Linked DNA regions of Homo sapiens: regions 2, 3 and 4 are each linked to region 1. The links are contacts of gene promoters, found by promoter capture Hi-C in blood cells and fetal thymus (Javierre and others, 2016). All regions are on one chromosome and are shown on one strand. The core of a region is centred on a gene start or on the middle of the fragment in contact, and the rest is flanking DNA. Distances in the headings are between cores, read along the strand shown.

The links. Contacts are between HindIII fragments. The CHiCAGO score rates a contact against its expected background, and 5 or more counts as called.
Region 2: a contact is called between a fragment that was not itself captured here and the fragment with the promoter of ANKEF1 in region 1, in 1 of 17 cell types (total CD4 T cells). The highest score is 6.3, in total CD4 T cells.
Region 3: a fragment that was not itself captured here is called in contact with the fragment with the promoter of ANKEF1 in region 1 in 7 of 17 cell types (total CD4 T cells, naive CD8 T cells, total CD8 T cells and 4 more); the score reaches 20.9 in total CD4 T cells.
Region 4: a fragment that was not itself captured here is called in contact with the fragment with the promoter of ANKEF1 in region 1 in 1 of 17 cell types (naive CD8 T cells); the score reaches 5.2 in naive CD8 T cells.

The regions. Positions count from the first base shown.
Region 1 is chr20:10,032,359-10,037,118 of GRCh38, reverse strand. ANKEF1 (ankyrin repeat and EF-hand domain containing 1) reads right to left here and starts at 2,132. Exons shown (of 11, transcript NM_022096.6): 1 at 1,786-2,132; 2 at 1,477-1,540. The region is part of intron 3 of SNAP25-AS1 (SNAP25 antisense RNA 1); the gene reads left to right. RefSeq lists a silencer at 1,792-2,341. The HindIII fragment of the contact is 1,358 bases long and covers 1,367-2,724 here.
Region 2 is chr20:18,132,599-18,137,358 of GRCh38, reverse strand. It overlaps a transcript of KAT14 not described here. Among named protein-coding and RNA genes, the nearest start is that of KAT14, 2.9 kb to the left of the region's middle. The HindIII fragment of the contact is 2,828 bases long and covers 1-2,664 here.
Region 3 is chr20:16,726,826-16,731,585 of GRCh38, reverse strand. It overlaps SNRPB2 (small nuclear ribonucleoprotein polypeptide B2), which reads right to left and starts at 1,560. Exons shown (of 7, transcript NM_003092.5): 1 at 1,422-1,560. RefSeq lists a silencer at 1,103-1,152 and enhancers at 1,303-1,422, 1,473-1,522, 1,581-2,449. The HindIII fragment of the contact is 864 bases long and covers 1,824-2,687 here.
Region 4 is chr20:16,559,833-16,564,592 of GRCh38, reverse strand. The region is part of intron 1 of KIF16B (kinesin family member 16B); the gene reads left to right. Among named protein-coding and RNA genes, the nearest start is that of KIF16B, 11 kb to the left of the region's middle. The HindIII fragment of the contact is 249 bases long and covers 1,126-1,374 here.

The DNA.
Region 1 (4,760 bases), core at 883-3,382:
GAAACTATGCACCATTTTTCTCCATCGCAAGCCTGCTCCCTCACCTACATTCTCTACGGCAGTGAGCTCTCTCTCCTTTAAATGTGTCTCTCTAGGCACCACAACATCTCCATCGCCTGCTTCCATCCAACACCAATGCCCCCTCCTGCTCAGGCTCCTTTGCTGACTCCCCATTTCAAGAAGCCTATGTTGGGTGCCCAGGGCTAGGTCCTCAAGACTCTTTTCTGTCCTCACACACTCCCCTGGTGTCTCGCCCTATCCCATGACCCTCGACCCTCAGCCCAACTCTCACTCTGTCACCCAGGCTGGAGTGTAGTGGCACAATCTCGGCTCACTGCAACCTCCACCTCCTGGGTTCAAGCGATTCTCCTGCCTCAGCCTCCCGAGTAGCTGGGATTACAGGTGCCCACCACCACACCTGGCTAATTTTTGTATTTTTAGTAAAGACAGGGTTTCACCATGTTGGCCAGGCTGATCTTGAACTCTTGACCTCAGGTGATCCACCCGCCTCAGCCTCCCAAAGTGTTGGGACTACAGGCGTGAGCCACCGGGCCAGGCCTCCTTTGCCTTTTAATCTGTTTATAACATGCGGTGGACTAGGGAACCAACTGAGGCTGCCTCAGAGTCATCCACTTGGACTTTGCTGCACGGCTTGGTGACACTCACCTTAGCTGCTATTTATGGCTTGTTTTATTATTATCGGCCATATTCCGATTAGGTGCGGTGTCATCATACTGCATATGTATATGTGTCATCTATGGAATAGGGCAAGATGCTCCTACATAGGTAATGATTAGACTGAATCAATGCCACTTGATTTGTGAAAATAAGGATTTCCCAATCAGGGACTTCAATGTTGCCTCTGTTAGCACCCATCTCTAACGGAGAATTAATTAGCAGCTACAGTGATGAATTCAGTAGGTCCATGGGTCGGTTTCCTGTGGACTGCCTCCCTCCCAGCTAAAGCCCTGAAGTGCTGGGGAGAGGGCAGCACCCTGTATAGTGTCCTTCACAATCAACTGCTAAGACTGACCAAGAGCTCACCCCACTGCAGGAAATCACACAAGTGTAGCCCTTGGGTCCTGGGTTCCTTGTAAATTGAGCAGCATATAGGATCCTCCACATACAAGCACACCTGTACTTTTCCCCAGCATGACCCTGGGCCACCTTAGTCACATCTAACCATCTACCAAGGTAGTGGAATAGAGCAGAATGTCTTGACTTGAGGTCCATGTTCGGGGTCTGAATACTCGGAAATTACATGAAAATCTGTGGGAATCTGTGTGTGTTCAGGTCATTTAACTCTCAAAGGGGGGCTGTGCGACAAGGAAGGATCATTAGAAAGAGGAATGGAGGAAGACAAGCTTGGTACAGTGGAATGTAGGGTTTGAGGTGGGGAAATCCGTTGTGATCCTCCCTTCCCTGTATCATTATTTACACAAACTAGTTGGATATAAATATGGATATGCTACCTACCTAGTTTTTACCTCAGTTTCTGCATCTGTGAACTGGCAATAGCAATGGTGCCCACTTCATGGGACTGTGTGAAAAGGAAATGAGATATGATCCTTGTAAAACATTTAGCAAAGTCCTTCAATATAGGCTCCTTATGAATACACCAAACTTTTGCGGGTTTCAGCTCACCCACAAGTGTAAGCGATAGTTTACATGTTGGGGGTTCTCTACTGTGCTTTCCACTTTTTAGTCTCCAGAAAAATCTGGAGAAGAGAGGAGTGGAGGGGGTAGAGATGTAACGTCAAAGGAAAAGCCATGTGTCATGCTCACCTCTTAGTCTTCCGGGCGATCAGAAGCCAGGGATCTCTGGGCACCTATGTGCCTGGGCCTGCTGGGGCGACCGGGGAGGCCCCTGCTCTCGTCCTCTGACGCTCAGCGCTGGCCCAGCCGCGACCTTGGGCTCCCGGAGCCCGGCGGAGGCGCCCAGGCGTGAATGATGTCCCTTGGGTAGGGCTGGTGAGCTGGCGCGCGGGACAGCAGGGCTGGGTGTATGTGTCCATGGGCCCCGGGTCCCCGGAAGGCGAGCGCGCGGGCAGGTGAGCGCAGGGGGCGGGGTGGAAGCCGGAGGGACCGGGCTGATTGTGAGCTTCCGCCACGCAGGGCGCGGCTGCCGGGGCAACCGCAGCGTGCGCGGTGGGGCGGTGCTCGCCTCCGCCTCCGCCTCCGCCTCCGCCTCCGCCTCCGCCTCCGCCTCCGCCTCCGCCCCCGCCCCCGCCTCCGCCTCCGCCCCTCGCGCCTGGCTTCGACGCCAGGTGGCCGGCCTGGGCGGGATGGGGTAGCTGCGCTGGGTGTTCCAGGGCGGAGCGCAGAATGCTGCTGTCTTGAGGATTCCGCCCTTCTCTCATTCTCTTCTCCCACCTCCTGCCCTGGGTCAGAACGTAATTTAGTTATAAAATTAAAGCTGCATATGGCAATTAAAAAATGAAGTAAAATATACAATAAATATTTAGTTTACAAAGTACAATTAAATGAAAAATACAATAAATTACACAATAAAGCGAAAGTGAACCTACTCTCAACTGCCACAGATTCTTGCAAATCTTCCCAGAAATTTTCTTTCCATACTCTAGGATGCATATATGCTTAAAAAATATTTATACACAAATGGAAGCAAATATGGAGATCACTTTATTTCAGGGCCTACAAATGCACCATAACACCCCTCTCTCTCCCTCCACACATGCTTTTTGGCGGAAAATTCTGAAAGCTTTGGTTTGATTATGTGAATGTAAAACATATATATGTGTGTCTATATATATATGCTTTTTAATGCAGTATGTAATTGCTTCCAATTAAAAACAGTAATTCCTTACACCAGCCTACCCTATTCTACTCAGAGACTGTTTAAAAATGTTAAGAGCGAAGACATGGAATCAACCTAAGTGCTCATCAATGATAGACTGGCTAAAGATAATGCGGTACATATACACCATGGAATACTATGCAACCATATAAAGGAACAAAATTATGTCTTTTGCAGGAATATGGAGCTGGAGGCAATTATCCTTGGCAAGCTAACGCAGAAACAGAAAACCCAATACTGCATGTTCTCACTTATGAGTGAGAGCTAAGTGATGAGAACACATGGACACATAGAGGGGAACAGCACACACTGGGGCCTATTGGAGGGTAGAAGGTGGAGAGTGGGAGGAGGGAGAGGATCAAGAGAAATAACTAATGGGTACTAATCTTAATACCTGGGTGAGAAAATAATTTGTGCAACAAAACCACATGACACAAGTTTACCTATATAACAAATCTGCACATGTACCCCTGAACTTAAACGTCAAATAAAAAATAATAAAAATGTTATTAAGGACTATTTCATGCACACCAAAATATACTGTATGATATATGGAAAGTACATACCATACCATACCATAGCTAAAGAAATACCATAGCTAAAGAAAAAGAAAGCTAGGAAAAATAAAGGAAAAAGGAAAAGGAAAAAAAAGTCTGCCTCTACTGCTGTACTTATATGTATTTCTTCCCAACACTGCATCCTCCTCTTCCTGTTCCCAGAGATAATACCTGTTCTGAATTTTACATTTATCATCCCAGCCTCTTAAAAATGCATTGCTACATTGAATGCCTCCCTAAATAATGCATGTTTAATATTGCATATTTTGAGAATTTATAAAAATGTGGTAGAATGTTGTGTATTGTTTTGATGACTTTTTTCCTTTCAACGTCTTGTTTTTGAAATGTATCTTTGTTGGTATGTTTAATTGGAGTTCCTTTATCTAAACAGCTGTAGGCTATTCCATTATATTACCATTCCACACCCCTTTCAAATCAATTCCACTATTGATAGACATTTGGGATGTTTCCAGAATTTGCTACTAAAAGCAATACTACTAAGATCATGTTTATAAATGTCTTTGGACGCACACGTTCAAGAGTTTCACTAGAGTATATGTCTAGGAGTTAAATTTCTGGGTCATAGGTTATTTATAACATCAAGATAAAGACAACTTGTTTTCCCGACATATACAGCAATTTAGACTCCCATCAGCAGTGTGTATCTTAGCCAAAACTTGGTTTTGTCACACAAAAAACTTTCTGCCAATCTTGGTATCAATGCTCTTTTATAATTTACTTTACGTGACCTGATTACTAATTATTAATCTGTAAGTTTGATTCCTTAGAGATATTTGAGTGTAAATTTATTGTCAAACTGTGTCCAAAATTGGTGGGTTCTTGGTCTCACTGACTTCAAGAATGAAGCCAGGGACCCTCGCGGTGAGTGTTACAGCTCTTAATGTGGCGCATCTGGAGTTTGTTCCTTCTGATGTTCGGATGTGTTCGGAGTTTCTTCCTTCTGGTGGGTTCGTGGTCTCGCTGGCTCAGGAGTGAAGCTGCAGACCTTCACGGTGAGTGTTACAGCTCTTAAGGCGGCGCTTCTGGAGTTGTTGGTTCCTCCTGGTGGGCTCGTGGTCTCGCTGGCTTCAGGAGTGAAGCTGCAGACCTTCGCAGTGAGTGTTACAGCTCATAAAAGCAGTGTGGACCCCAAGAGTGAGCAGCAGCAAGATTTATTGCAAACAGTGAAAGAACAAACCTTCCACAGTGTGGAAGGGAACCCAAGCGGGTTGCCACTGCTGGCTCAGGCAGCCTGCTTTTATGCTCTTATCTGGCCCCACCCACATCCTGCTGATTGGTAGAGCCGAGTCCTCTGTTTTGACAGGGCGCTGATTGGTGCGTTTACAATCCCTGAGCTACACCCAAAGGTTCTCCATGTCCCCACC
Region 2 (4,760 bases), core at 1-2,500, 8.1 Mb before region 1:
TGGTTTCACCTTGACGCTGTGGGGCGACTGGTCAGGCTCGGATTATTATTATTATTATTATTATAATTTTGATACAGAGTCTCTGTCTATCGCCCAGGCTGGAGTGCAGTGGCGCGATCTCGGCTCACTGCAACCTTACCGGATTCAAGCGATTCTCCTGCCTCAGCCTCCCGAGAGGATTACAGGCGTGAGCCACCGCGCCTGGCCCCATGTAATCTTTGTGATCACTTTTACACCCAAGTTTCCGCGCCAGTAATACAAGGGAAATAAATGATATAAAGAAGTCTTGCGTTGGGAATAGTTAAGCAATTGTGCAAGACGCATTTTCACTTCTTCCTCGGGTAAAAAAGGCAAGGCCTCCCAGAAACTTTTAAGTATCTGATAGAGCAACCAGTGAAAACGTGTTCATCATTCAATCATTCTTTCCCACTAGAATTCACAGAGAACGAGCTTCTTCCGGTGGACACGGCTATAGGCAGTATTGATTAAGCCTCACCAGGGAGTTTTACAACATTCATTACTGTTCATAGTGCTTTGCTATTCCAGTCTCTTATGTGAGCGTAAATGGCATAAGGGGACTATTGCTCTTAAAGGTATCTTTAAAGATACCTTTTCCAAATGTCATTTTGTCCACAGCATTTTTTGCAGCCTAGAGAGAATGTACCACTGAATTGGAAAATGGAGTTCTTGCTGTAATGAACTTTGAGAAGAAATTCAGTTCAGGGTGTATTTGCATATTTCTCTTTAAAAATTATATTAGACTTCTTTTTATTCGTGGTATATCCTAGATATTTTCCCCTGTAAATCAGTGAGCCTTCAACAGAGCTGTATGTCCTTAGAGTGTACATCAGGGAATTAGATCAATCGCCTTTCATTTTATTGTGACTAATTTTTCAACTTGTTTTCTTGAAATGTACTCTTTTCTTTATTTTCAGGATACTAGAAGCAAAAAAAAAAGTATTCTACTTTTAAGAAATCATTTATTATTAACTGTGTCAAATAAAAAAGTGGGTTGGGGGACTGAGGGAGGTCTTGCAAAAAAAAAAAAGTATGTTTATCTGTTTAAATATTTATAAGCCTAAGCAGTATATTTTCCGTGATTATTGTCGCATAAATTACTGATTTGTGAGAGTGACTGCATATCATCAAACTGAGAAGCAACTATTTTTTTCTTTTTCTTTTCTTTTCTTCTTTTTAATTGAGACAGGGTCTCACTCCGTCGCCCAGGCTGGAGTGCTGTGGGGTGATCTCACTGCAACCTTTGCCTCCCAGATTCAAGCGATTCTTGTATCTCAGCCTCTGGAGTAGTTGGGGTTACAGGCCTGAGCCACCAGGCTGCACTAATTTTTGTATTTTTAGTAGAGATGGGGTTTCACCATGTTGGCTAGGCTGATCTAGAACTCTAGTACTGGGTGCTGGTACTGGGTGTTTGTGAAAATTGGTCCAGTGGCACACCAAGGCTGTGTGGTCACACATACATGCATGATACACTTCTATACAAAATCTTACATAACTATACGAACAGAAAAAAAATGGCTCTTTTTTGTTTCTTTTATTGTCTTTATTTCCTTTTGATTTTTTATTGTGTGTTTTTTTCTTTTTTTTCCCATTGGTTCATAGCCGATGGCTTTACATTTTATCATCACTTCTTGTATCAAATAGCTTTTTGGCTGGGAACGGTGGTTCATGCCTGTATTCCAGGCACTTTGGGAGGCCAAGGCAGGTGGATCACTTGAGGTCAGGAGTTCGAGAACAGCCTGGCCAATATGGTGAAACCCCGTCTCTACTGAAAATACAAAAATTCGCCAAATGTGGCAGCGCATGCCTGTAATCCCAGCTACTTGGGAGGCTGAGGCAGGAGAATTGCTTGAACCCGAGAGGCAGAGGTTGCAGTGAGCCACTGCACTCCAGCCTCGGTGACAGAGTGAGACTTCAACTCAAAAAAAAAAAAAAAAAAGTTTTTTCTCCATGGTAACTATCAAAAATTAAAGAGATGATCATTTAAAAAGATTTTGATCAGCCAGGCGTGGTGGCTCACACCTTTAATCCTAGCACTTTGGGAGGCCAAGGAGGGTGGATCACTTGAGGTCAGGGATTCGAGACCAGCCTGGCCAACATGATGAAACCCCGTCTCTACTAAAAATACAAAAATTAGCCAGGTGTGGTGGTGGGTGCCTGTAATCCCAGCTACTTGGGAGACTGAGGCAAGAGAATCACTTGAGCCCGGGAGGTGGAGGTTGCAGTGAGCCGAGATCAAACCACTGCACTCCAGCCTGGGTGACAGAGTGAGACTCCATCTCAAAAAAAAAAAAAAAAAAAAAAAATCTTGATCAAGAACTATGTGCAGGAGCAATGATCAGGAACTATTTTTAACACAAAACTTGATATTTAAAAGAGACTCCAAGAAGAATGTTATCAGGAAATTTTACCCAAAGTTGATATTTAAATCTACCCCAAGATTTGCTTTTATTTTTCTTCTCATAATTATATGTCATTTATTTTTTTGTTTTTCTTTTTCTTTTTTATAAGAGTACCATATAAAGGAAATGTAAATAATTATTATCCATGAAGCTCCTTTTAGAATTATCCAAGCTCACGCAAGTTGATCCCAGTGAGTTGTACAGATATCCTTATTTTTTATGTTTACCAAGGTGGGACGAAGCTTAGGAAGCATGGCTGATTTAATACAATTTGCTTGTAAGGCCAGAACATCTGAACCTTGTGTATCTGGCTATATTCTAGTGTCTCGGCATCCTAAGATCACATCAGTTCCTGCCCCTCTCAGCTTTGGATTGACTTAGGTGTGCCCAGAATGGCCACTGCTTTCCTGGAGAGGACAGTGGGTGCCTTGCCCTGCCATTGGCTGGCCTTCAGAGTGAACTTACCTCCAAAGACAAAAATAGGAAGCTGACCACCTTAAAAACCGCTCAGTGGCTCCCCATGCCTACAGGATAAAGTCCCATACTCTTTAGAACAGCATACTACCCTGTCCTTCCCTTCAGAATCCTCTAAGCAAGAGGCAGCATCAAAAAAGAAGTACAGTTGGAAGTCAGGGCTTGGAGAAGAATCAACAAATGAAAACTAAGGGGAGGGAATGCAGTCATTTTCCTGTGTTTGAACAACATGGTCACACAATCTTTGTTCCACCTTCACTCACACAAGGGTGGGGACTTGAAAAAAATGCCTTCCTCACTGAGTGTGTAATTTGGCTTATGTTATTTGGGCTTGAATCATGGCCAGGTCCTGGCAGCTATCCTGGGAGAGCTGGGTTTCGGGTCACTTCTGTCTTAAAGAATAGTAAATCACTAGTACCCTAGCAGGAGGTATCAGTAGGAGGCACGGGTTTAAACTGGGCTTGATGGTGGGCATGAATGCAATAGGTCAAGGCAGAGGCTTCAGGCAATGATCAGAAGCTTGTCATCATTGGGGCTGAGAGAGAAGGAGGAGGTGGGAAGGAGGAGGTTTGTTTGGGAAGAAGGTGGAGGGTGTCAGCTGAACTGGCACCAGTGACTGATAAATTTATCAGTCTCAGCACTAAATGATTACAGAAACATCACACCACATGGCACCGCATAAAGCACCATTATGACTATTTTAAATGCAAGCAAGAAGGCTTGCCTTGTGTATGGCCCTGTAGTGGGCTCTATAGGCAGACAAGGCCACGAAATCCCACCTTCTTCAGGCTGAGGCTCTGAAGTCAGCACATAAGGAAAAAGTCAAAAACAGTTAAAACTACCCTTGAAAACATTTTAGGAAGGTGACATGTTGAAGAAAATAGATATTTTCTCAGGAACTCCAAAACAGCCAGTTTTTCTTCTGGTACTGGAATTAATCACCATGAATTCAATGCAGTATCTATATAAGTAATCTGAAATTCTGCACAGGTTTGTCTCTTCTCTCCCATTTAGTAACTGATTCAATCATTTGTTTCTATCAGTGTGGACTGGTGGGTATTTATTTTATACTTTGGGTTATAATCCAATATTACTTTATTTTGTTGCTCAGATGGCTCCCGCTTTGGCCGTTGGGAGATCTTTCAGCTCCTCTGCTTCTCTGACGGACCCTCATCAATGTGTGTTTTTCTTGTTTAGCACTTGTCTATTTTCTGACACTGCACAATATTCTGAGCTAATCTTGTATATTTCCTGCCCAAGTCTCAGAATCTGCCATTTCTCCAAGAATCCAAGGTTCTTTTTATTGTAGAATAATATTGGAATCCAAGATATAGGTCCTGGCATGCTTATTGCTACTGGGGCTTTGTTTCTTTTGGGCCCTCTCAGCTGACAAAGCACATAAATATATGTGTGTATACTTATCTGTGTATGTTACATATCTGCAAATATTTCTATATGTAATCACCTGAATCTATATTGACTAAAATGTGAGATATTGCTGATGTCTGCAACTCTAGTCCATTACCAGATGGATTATTCTAACCTCCTTTTTTTATTGGTAAATTCCTACTCCATCAGTGAGAATTCAGGCTCCCATTTTCCACCATCCACTTGCGCAATTGTTTGATTCCAGTGTACATGTATAGCAGTTTCAGAATTGTTTACCTCATAATTATATGTCATTTTTTTTTTGTGGGAAACAACTTTACCTACTAGAGTACCATGCTTTTTTGCAGTTCCTATTGCTTTTGGCTTTATAGACCTCATTTACTCCAAAGTTACCAAATCAGCACCTTTGCCCTCCACCCCTTCAGTGATATCGTTTCATATGTTTGCAATACAGTTAGATGCTCTTGTCATGGTTTG
Region 3 (4,760 bases), core at 1,006-3,505, 6.7 Mb before region 1:
TTCAATCCCAGTTGTCAGAAAATGTCAGTTTGGCTGTAGCCTTTATTGTATCTCCAGCACCTACTAGCCCTCCTTTTCATACAGAAGAAGAACAGTTTCTCACATTCAAAACTTGGAGCACCAATACCTAGCCAGATTTTAGTAACACCATTTAATTCAACACATTTATTTTTACACTTACGTTTCACTTATGACACGTGACATTTTCTTTCCACCTCCTCAATGAAATAATTTTAAAATGTAGATTTGAAGAAAAATGACCAAAGTAGCAAATGTACATCCAGTAAAAATCATAAGGTTAGACATTAATGAAGTTTGCCAACTACTTAATGGGTGCACTTACAAAGTCCTTCCATACCTATTAATTTGTATACAGCATCACCAAGCTGTCTGGACTCCAAGGTTATCTCTAACCGACTTGAAAGAAAGGAGCTCAATGACAGCAGTGTGGCATGACGATTAAACTCAGATTCCAGTATCAGCCAGATGTGAATTCAAATCCTATTTATGCTTCTTACTAGCTGTTTGCCTGAGGGAAGTTCCTTAACCTCTCAGGTCCTCATCAGTAAAATAAGAATGGTAACAGAACCTACCCAATAGAACTCAGAAGACTAAATGAATTCTAGCACAGTTCTGCATCAGCGGTAAACACTTAAGAGTAGCTATTATTAACAGCTATTACCAGGTAAGGAACTTGCCTAAGGTCACACAGCTAATAAGCATCAGGCCTGGAAATTCAGCCCTTGCTTTCTCCTCTACACTTGTCTTCCTCATATACCACACTATTGCATTTTTTACATGGTTTTTACTTGCAAATTGTGAACTTGGATGATTTCCTTGTGTGCCCCACATATTCCTTTATCTCACAGTATTTACAGAGCATCCACTGTATGTGAACTGCATTGGATGATTGACAAGGGAAGAGCCTACAAGCAGGGGCTGCACTTGTGCAGGTAACAGGTAAAACGTAACGCTTCTCAAAGCCTTGCGACCCCCTAAATCGAAATCTGGAGAAGGGGCAGGGGTCGCAAAGGAGACGACGAAAGGGAAGTGACTGAGGCAGAGGTCAAAGTGAAGGTAGGGGGACAAAGGGGAGGCTCTTGCAGGGTTTCATGCGAGGTTTGATCGTGGGCTGCGTTGTTACAGGGACACCCTGAATTACCCGCCACCACCAAAAGGGAGCCGCTGGAAGACACCTGAAAGCGCAGTGAACTGTCCACGCCTCGCACGAGCAGACTGACATTAACTATCCTTTACTTCGTACGCGCAAGCCTCCCGCCTCTCCAGACACAAGCACCTTCGCCCAAGGCCCCCTAACGAAGTCCAAGGGAGCTGCCACGCGATGCCCGGCCCCAGAGTCAGTCTCCTCACCCCCAAGCCTGCCCCTCCGAGATCCAAACCCGGGCCAAACGCGTACCCACCCCAGCTTCGCGCTTCGTCCGCTCCCAGCTGCAACAGGGGAGAAAAGGGCCGAGGAGCCAGGAAAACCGAAACAGCGAGGTAGAAGGCGCACGAACCCACCTAAGGCCTACGCCGACTACTGTAAGAACCAAAAGCAGGAAACGGAGCCAGGCACCGGAAGCAACGTAGCCACGCTCCTCAATCGAGCGCCGACAAGTCTAGAAGCCGAGCACAGAGCCGATCGATGCTTCCGGGTCTCTGGCAGCCAGGGCTGGCAATCTCTCTGCGCGTGCGTCTGCCCTGCGGGCAGGAGAAGAGTCCGGAAATGGAAATGGGGAAAGAGAAGGGGGTTGTGAGGACCATGCTGCGAGGGAATAGTGAAGGGGAGTGAATCATTTCCCCTACCACGACCTTGCGAAGCTTTACCCGGCGCAACAGTGCCTTCCACCTTTACAAATCCTATGTAATTTTACAGGCGCTGCCCCTCATGCTATGGGGCAGTTAGTCCTGGTTTCGCCCTTCTTTGGGCTCTAGCTACCCCGGTTTAAAATCACCTTTAGGATAGCCAGTTCCTCCTGCCTCCGAGTCTCCTCTGATTCATGGGGCTCTGCAGGAACTGTCCTCCAACACTGTGCTGATGAACTTGAATCTCAGAGGCTACTCAGTTTGAGGGCCCAGGGCAGACAGAACTGGTGTCTGCCCAATTCTCATCTCTCACCAGATAAGGCAACCATGCTGACTAGAACCCAGTCATCTGTAAGATCATCTGCCTCAATTCACTCGAAAAAATAATTCCCTACCACCCTTCCCACTCTTTTCTTCCAACAAAAGGTCTAGATTTTTCTAGGGTATTCTAAGGAGTTAGTATTTATGCCAAGCTGAATGGGAGTTCCCAAAGTGCATGCATTCATTCATCCATCCATTCATCAGATGTCTGTAAAGCATCACCTGGAATATGAAATGGTTGTTAAGAGTCAACTGGAACCTAATCTTGTACCCTCTGCTTAACTAATCTCTCTGACCTTCACTTTTTTCATCTGTAAAATAGGGATCCTAATAGTACCTCCTTCTAGTTGTTGTAAGCATTAAATGAGCTAAAATAAATGTAAAGTGATTGGCACATTGTCAGACACAATAAATGCTCAAAAATGTTATTTCTGAATTCTGGCTATAACTTGGTTCTACTGGTGAGGCAGGTAGCTGTCAAATAAGTTGGTTTTATCAGCTGGGAATTTTTATTTTTTAAAAACACCCAAAGTTGCAACAACTTGAAAATAATATAAGCTTTTTAAGGGTGGGGTTTTTGTCTGCTCTGTTCACTCAAGTACCCTTAGTAATGGGAAAAGTGACTGATAATTAATATGCATTGGATAATTCAATGAATGACATGGAAAACTAGGCAACAGTAAAACAAATATGCTTTGAACATGCACCTGAGTGTAGAGAATGTTAAGGGATCACAGAAAAGCATCGTTTTATTATATAGATCTAAAACTAGAAGAAATGGCTGAGTGTAGTAGCTCACACCTGTAATCCTAGCATTTGGGGAGGCTGAGACAGGAGGACTGGTTGAGTCCAGGAGTTCAAAATCATCCTGGGCAACATAGTGAGATCTCATCTCTAAAATAAATAAACCAATGAGAAGAAATGTCCTATCTCAGTCAAAGAATTATATCTTTAACAAATTAAAAGAGAATATAAACTTAATATAAACAATTTCTAAATAACAAAGGACAAGCTGTTTTGCATATTACTATGAGCATCTCAGCAATTAGTTCTGTTTGATAATAATGAGGATGGCTACACTACTGAGAATAAACTATACTCTGTATTGTATAAGGGGATCTAGCCAAGAGTTGATAACTGTTAAAAGAGAATAAGATGTGATTATACAAAAACACTCCAACCTGGGAAGAAAATACCACAAGAAACACAGAGGCCTGAAGACAGACTGCATGTTGTGTTCTATTAACAATTAAATTACAGCTATTGTACATTACACTGTGAGAAGGAAATCATCCATTGCCAACTCAGCCGCAATGGTCTGCATGCACTTTTCCAGGTTCTTCTAAAAAGAGCCAGTGCATTTTCCTGTCCTTGGGCAGTCACTCTGGGCATTCCAATAACCCGTTAATGATTCTCAGTGGTTTCCTGAACGATTTGAGAAGCCAGTTATTGAGAACAGTACAGGAAGGGAATGATAAGGATCGAATAGCTTTTCTGGTTTTGTGAGAAACCTTGCATAGCCTGGCTATGTAACTATATTAAGAATATTATAGCAGCTAAACTATGGTCACATGTACTGTAAAACATCATCACTTTATAACCAGATCCACTTCTTGAGGGTGAGATCAGGAATCAGATGTCCAAAACTCACATTTTTAAAAACTAGAAGAGCAAATGAGTTTTGTTAGTTCTGCTCAGTCTGTTCTTTCACATTTGGGTTAGGTATCGTGATTTATTTTCCTGTGAAACAGGCTTTTTTTAATCGAGAGAAACAAGGAGGCAGCGTTATAACCACCCTATCCAAGTGTCATGTATTTGCAGATGATAAAACTTGCTTATTTTGGGAGTAGCAGAAAAATTACTACAAACAGTAGGGAATAAAACTGTGCCAAGATGTCTAAATTATAAGGAAGATAACTGAGGTGTCTCTTAGTGACTCTGAATACACATACATTTCCCTACCTTATCTGCACGTGTTTTATGTTTCTCATTAATTGTTTTTGGTATCTTGCTGCAGTAGTTTTAAGAAGGAGCCATGTATAAAGGAAAATGCACCATAAAACTGGTGGATAAATTTTGTCTTATTTATGTTACATAGAGTCACAAAATGTATGGCAATTCGTTTGTATCTTCTTTCTCTCCCCAGGTGGTGATTACATTAAGAAATGTATCTAGAGTGAAATTATTTTCACAACAAGCATTAAACAAATCTAGGCGTTATTGTTGAGCACCAAATCAGGTTTATGTTTTCCAGGGAGGTTGGGATAATGTTGACTGAAACTTCCTAAAAAGCACCACTCTCCCACCCCCAATTCAGGGAGGAAATAATTTTGTGCAATTTTCTTTCATTTTACTTAATTCTTACATTTCATTCTTTGTGGATACATTCTTGCTTTTAGGAATGAAAGAAACCCAAATATGACTATTGCCTCTGATGTTCACTACTGTATTAATGTTAAGAATAGTGTGTCTTTCACATGCAGCAAAATACCCTCTCCCCAGAATGGGTGATGTCTCAGATAGGCTATGAGAATGTGCACATTCCATAAAGTTTGGAAATGGTAGTTTTTCTTTGAGGACCTGATCATTAATCCAAAGAAGTGTGGGGAAAACCTGAACTTTTTTGGTGAACT
Region 4 (4,760 bases), core at 1-2,500, 6.5 Mb before region 1:
TTGGTGTGCTGCACCCATTAACTCGTCATTTAACATTAGGTATATCTCCTAATGCTATCCCTCCCCTCTCCCCCCACCTCACAACAGGCCCCGGTGTGTGATGTTCCCCTTCCTGTGTCCAAGTGTTCTCATTGTTCAATTCCCACCTATGAGTGAGAACATGCGGTGTTTGGTTTTTTGTCCTTGCGATGCACACGTATGTTTATTGCGGCACTATTCACAATAGCAAAGACTTGGAACCAAGCCAAATGTCCAACAGTGATAGACTGGATTAAGAAAATGTGGCACATATACACCATGGAATACTATGCAGCCATAAAAAAGGTTGAGTTCCTGTCCTTTGTAGGGACATGGGTGAAGCTGGAAACCATCATTCTCAGCAAATTACCGCAAGGACTCCTGTAATCTTTTGAAACTTTTTTACTCCATGTTTGAGGCATGGCCTGGTCTGCATCCCTGGATCCCAGCCCTTACCTGGACATGACAAACCCAGGCTCAGCAGAAGACAGATTTTTTTGTTTGTCTCTTTTTGTTTTGAAGAAGAGAAAAAGAAAACAGGGAGTTTGGGGTTGGTGAAAGAAGGCTGGAGGAGCAAGGGAGGGAAGGGGCTGCTGGCTGGAAAGAGAAAGGAGGGGAGAGTTGCTGCTGTTGCTGACACCTTGAGTTGGGAGCGCATGGAAGTTTTTTCTTTCTTTTAGGTGAACTTTATAAGTAATATGATGCAAATGTCTGGTATTTTTCCTTATACAATATTTTAAAATATCTTTGTGTGCAAAATACACTTATACAAGGTGTATTAGTAGTTTAAAAGGTGCTCTTGAGTGACTTGGGTCACATAATTTGGTTTTAAACTTCTGTTGCTTTATTTTAAACATGGAAACTGTGTGAGCATGAGAGTGGAGTGGGAGAGAGTGGAGTGGCAGAGATCGAGTGTGTATGTGTTTCTTTTTGCCTGTCAGAGAGAGAGAAGTTATTTAGAAATGTCCAGTTGTGTGATATATAGCAGTTTGGTCTAAAGTTGATTGATGTGATACTTCCTTGTTTCTTGACTGTTTTTCTAAGTTATTTTGATAGCTTTGGCTGTTTTTGCAGATTCTGGAATTGGGATGCCATCTTACTGAAGCTTGTTTTGTGAAAGAGAATATGTTAATTATACTTAGACCTGTAGCCTGGGAAAAGAAGTAATAGTGTTTTAGCTCCTTCCTGAGGACTGAGAGATTTATTTTGGTGGCTTTGACTGCCTTTCCTCACGTTCAGGTTATAAAAAGACAGGGGAAAAAATCCTTCCAGGGAGGTTGGTCAGCACTGGCTTGGACTTAGCCCGCACATTCATCCAAGCACAAAGGAGGTAACCACCAGTGGGGCCAGGAAGCTTGCCTTCGGTCACTCCTATTATCCCTGGGCGGAGCATTTGTGTTTTTTGCTCTGTCCATTTCCAAATGTATTCATTTTTCATTGTTGCTGTCCATGAGATAGGAAATAGCTGTTTCTGTGATCAGTCATTTATTTATAGACACTTTAAGTACATTTCAGTGGGATATGTAGAATTTAAAGTAAATTGAGAAAGTTAATGCTTTCAATGTAATTGTTGATCAGTAATTTGGTCACTCATTACTATTTCTGGCCACTCATTCACTTGCTAGGAATTCTGCTAAATCCTGCGCTGTACTATCTAATTCACTTCTTCACAACAGTTCTACAGGGGTGAACATCATTAGATCCGTCTTATAGATGGGAAACTGAGTCTCAAAGAAGGATCAGGTTCTGTCTCATATGCCCGTCTTCAGAGAAGGCTTTATTACCTCACTCTGGTTTTCTGGCTTGCTAACATTCCCCATTTTATGAATGTATACGTGTGTGTATGTGTGAATATATTTTTGTTTGCTTATTATCTCTTAAACTCTCTGAGAGCCAGTCACCGTGTAGATCTTGTTCATGGCTGTTTCCCCGGGGCCTGGAACTGTGCCGGGAAGACCTGAGCACTCAGAAAGTATTTGTTACATTTATAAGTATCTCCACTCACCCTCCACACATGCCTCTTACTTTCTGTGGTTGCTCGTGAGGGATTGGGATCCGTAGTCACGGCGTTTGTTGCATGTCTCACATTGTTCTCCGTGAGGAGGAAAAGAGCATCTTGACAATCCTCCTATTGGGTATTAGGAAGACGTGAGGGGTGACGGAGGGCTGAGCAAGAGCCTGGGTAAACAAGGACAGCTTCAGCTCTTTCCCGTGTATTAAGTTTACTTAATATTACACTCCCAATGAAGATTAAGATTACTTCATATTACACACCAATGCACATTATGTTTATCCCTTAAGGTTAGAGAGTTGGAGGTACAGCACTATGGTACAACACTTTACTGTGTTTAAATGATACACAGTTTATAGGGCAGAATACTCTTGTTTCTTTCTTCAGAAAAGATATTTTAAAAAATTTTTATTTTGAAATAATTGTAGATTTATAGTAAAGTTGCAAAATAGTAGAGAGTTCCCATATATAAACTCTTCACCGAACTTCCCGTAATATTATGCCTTATGTAACCACAGCACAATGATCAAAACGAAGAAATTAACTAAATTTTATCTAGATTTCACCAGTTTTCCCACTAATGTCTTCCTTCTGGTTCAGCATCCAATCCGGGATCCCACATTGCATCTAAATGTAGCATGTCTCCTGAGTCTTCTCTGGTACGTGACAGTTTGTAAGTCTTTCCTTGTTTTTCATAACCTTAATTTTTGAAGAGTACTGGTCAGTTATTTTTTAGAATGGTTCTCAGTGTGGCTTTCTCTGATGTTTTATCACAAATACGTTGAAGTTAAGCAATTTTTGACAATAATACCACAAAAGTGATTTTGTGTCCTTCATATGTTACTGGGGTATGTGATGTCAATATGTCTTACTACTGGTGATGTTGACCTTGATTACGTGGTTAAGGTGGTATCTGCAGGGTTTCTCCACTGTAATGTTTTATTTTTTTTTTCCTGTTTGTAATTAATAAATATCTTGGGGGAGATACTTAAAATTTTTGACTTCAGTTTGCAAAAGAATTTTCCCCTCATGGCAACACACCTCAGATTTTCTAATAAAAGTTATTGTGAATATAAGAACTATTTAAAACTTTTTTTTTCCCACTGACTTAGTGAGAAAGGATTTGTCATATTATTTGAAATGAAGGGCGCTTATGTTTTGGAAGGCTGATGATGATTGTATAGAACTATGTGCTTCAAACAAGATCCACAGTAAGACATTCATCTGCTCAATGCATGCTGATATTTTCTACTCTCTACTACTTTTTTTTGAGACAGAGTCTTGCTCTGTGGCCCAGGCTGGAGTGCAGCAGCTCCATCTCTGCCCACTGTAACCTCCACCTCCCGGGTTCAAGCAATTCTTATGCCTCAGCCTCTTGAGTAGCTGGCATTACAGATACCCGCCACCACGCCCAGCTAATTTTTTTTTGCAGTTTTAGTAGAGACGGGGTTTCACCATGTTGGCTAGGCTGGTCTTGAACTCCTGACCTCAGGTGACCCACCCACCTCAGCCTCCCAAAGCGCAGGGATTACAGGCATGAGCCACTGCGCCCGGCCTCTCTATTATATTTTTTTAAAAAAAGATGATTGTTACTCACTAAAATGATTTTATGATTCATAGTTTGAAAAAAACACTGATGAAGTGAATTTATTATCCAGAGAAGAAGTTGGTAAAATCTGATTTTGTTACTCGAGACAACACTGAGACATCATGCCGTCAGAGTGACTGCCAATTCCGTTTCCTCTTGTTAGCTGGTTAGAGCTTTTTTTCTTTTTTTTTGAGATAATATCTCACTTTGTCACCCAGGCTTGAGTGCAGTGGCACGAAAATGGCTCACTGCAGCGTTGACCTCCCAGGCCCAAGCGATCCTCCCACCTCAGCCTCAGCCCCCCAAGTAGCTGAGTGATTTTTGTATTTCTTTTAGACAAGGGGTTTCACCATGTTGCCTAGGTTGGTCTTGAACTCCTGAGCTCAGGTGATCCGCCTGCCTTGGCCTCCCAAAGTGTTGGAATTACAGGCTTGAGCCATTGCTCAGATCAAGATTTTAAACTTTTAAGAGTGTAGGATTCTGAACCCTCCATGGGATGCCTGCTCTCAGGAACTTGGTGTCCTTTGCCCCAGGGGCCTGTGGTCTCACCTCACTGCACCTGCTGATTCTTATTGACAAAGTCTAAGCCATCACAGGGATTCTGCCTGGGACACAGTTAAGTCACTGTGTGAACTTCCTCAGAGCAGGACTTAAAAGTTCCCCAGGGAACTGTCAAGAAAAAATGATTCTAGGTGATGGAGACTAGCTCAAATTCAATCAATTTGCCAGATAAGGCTTTACGAAAATATCTGGTCTGTTCTCATCCTTTTCCCTAAAGTTGGTGTTTTCATTTGACGAGGTAGATGGGCCCTTGTGAGAAGGTATCAGTGGTCCTTGGCTGGTGCTCACATGTGATGATTCAATTAAGGTGCTTTTCTTTCTTTTTTTAAAAATATTTTTAACTTTTTATTTTGAAGTATTTATAAGAATTTGCAAAAATAATACAGAGTTCCCATGTACCTTTTACCCAACTTCTTTGAATGTTCTTTTCTTCTATAACTATCTTATAATTATCAAAACCGGAAAGTAATATTGATACAACATTATTTGAATGTTGTATCATTATTTGAATACAAATCTGAATAGACTTTATTCAGATTTCTCAGATTGCCCCAGCAATGTCTTTTATCTGGTCCAGGATCC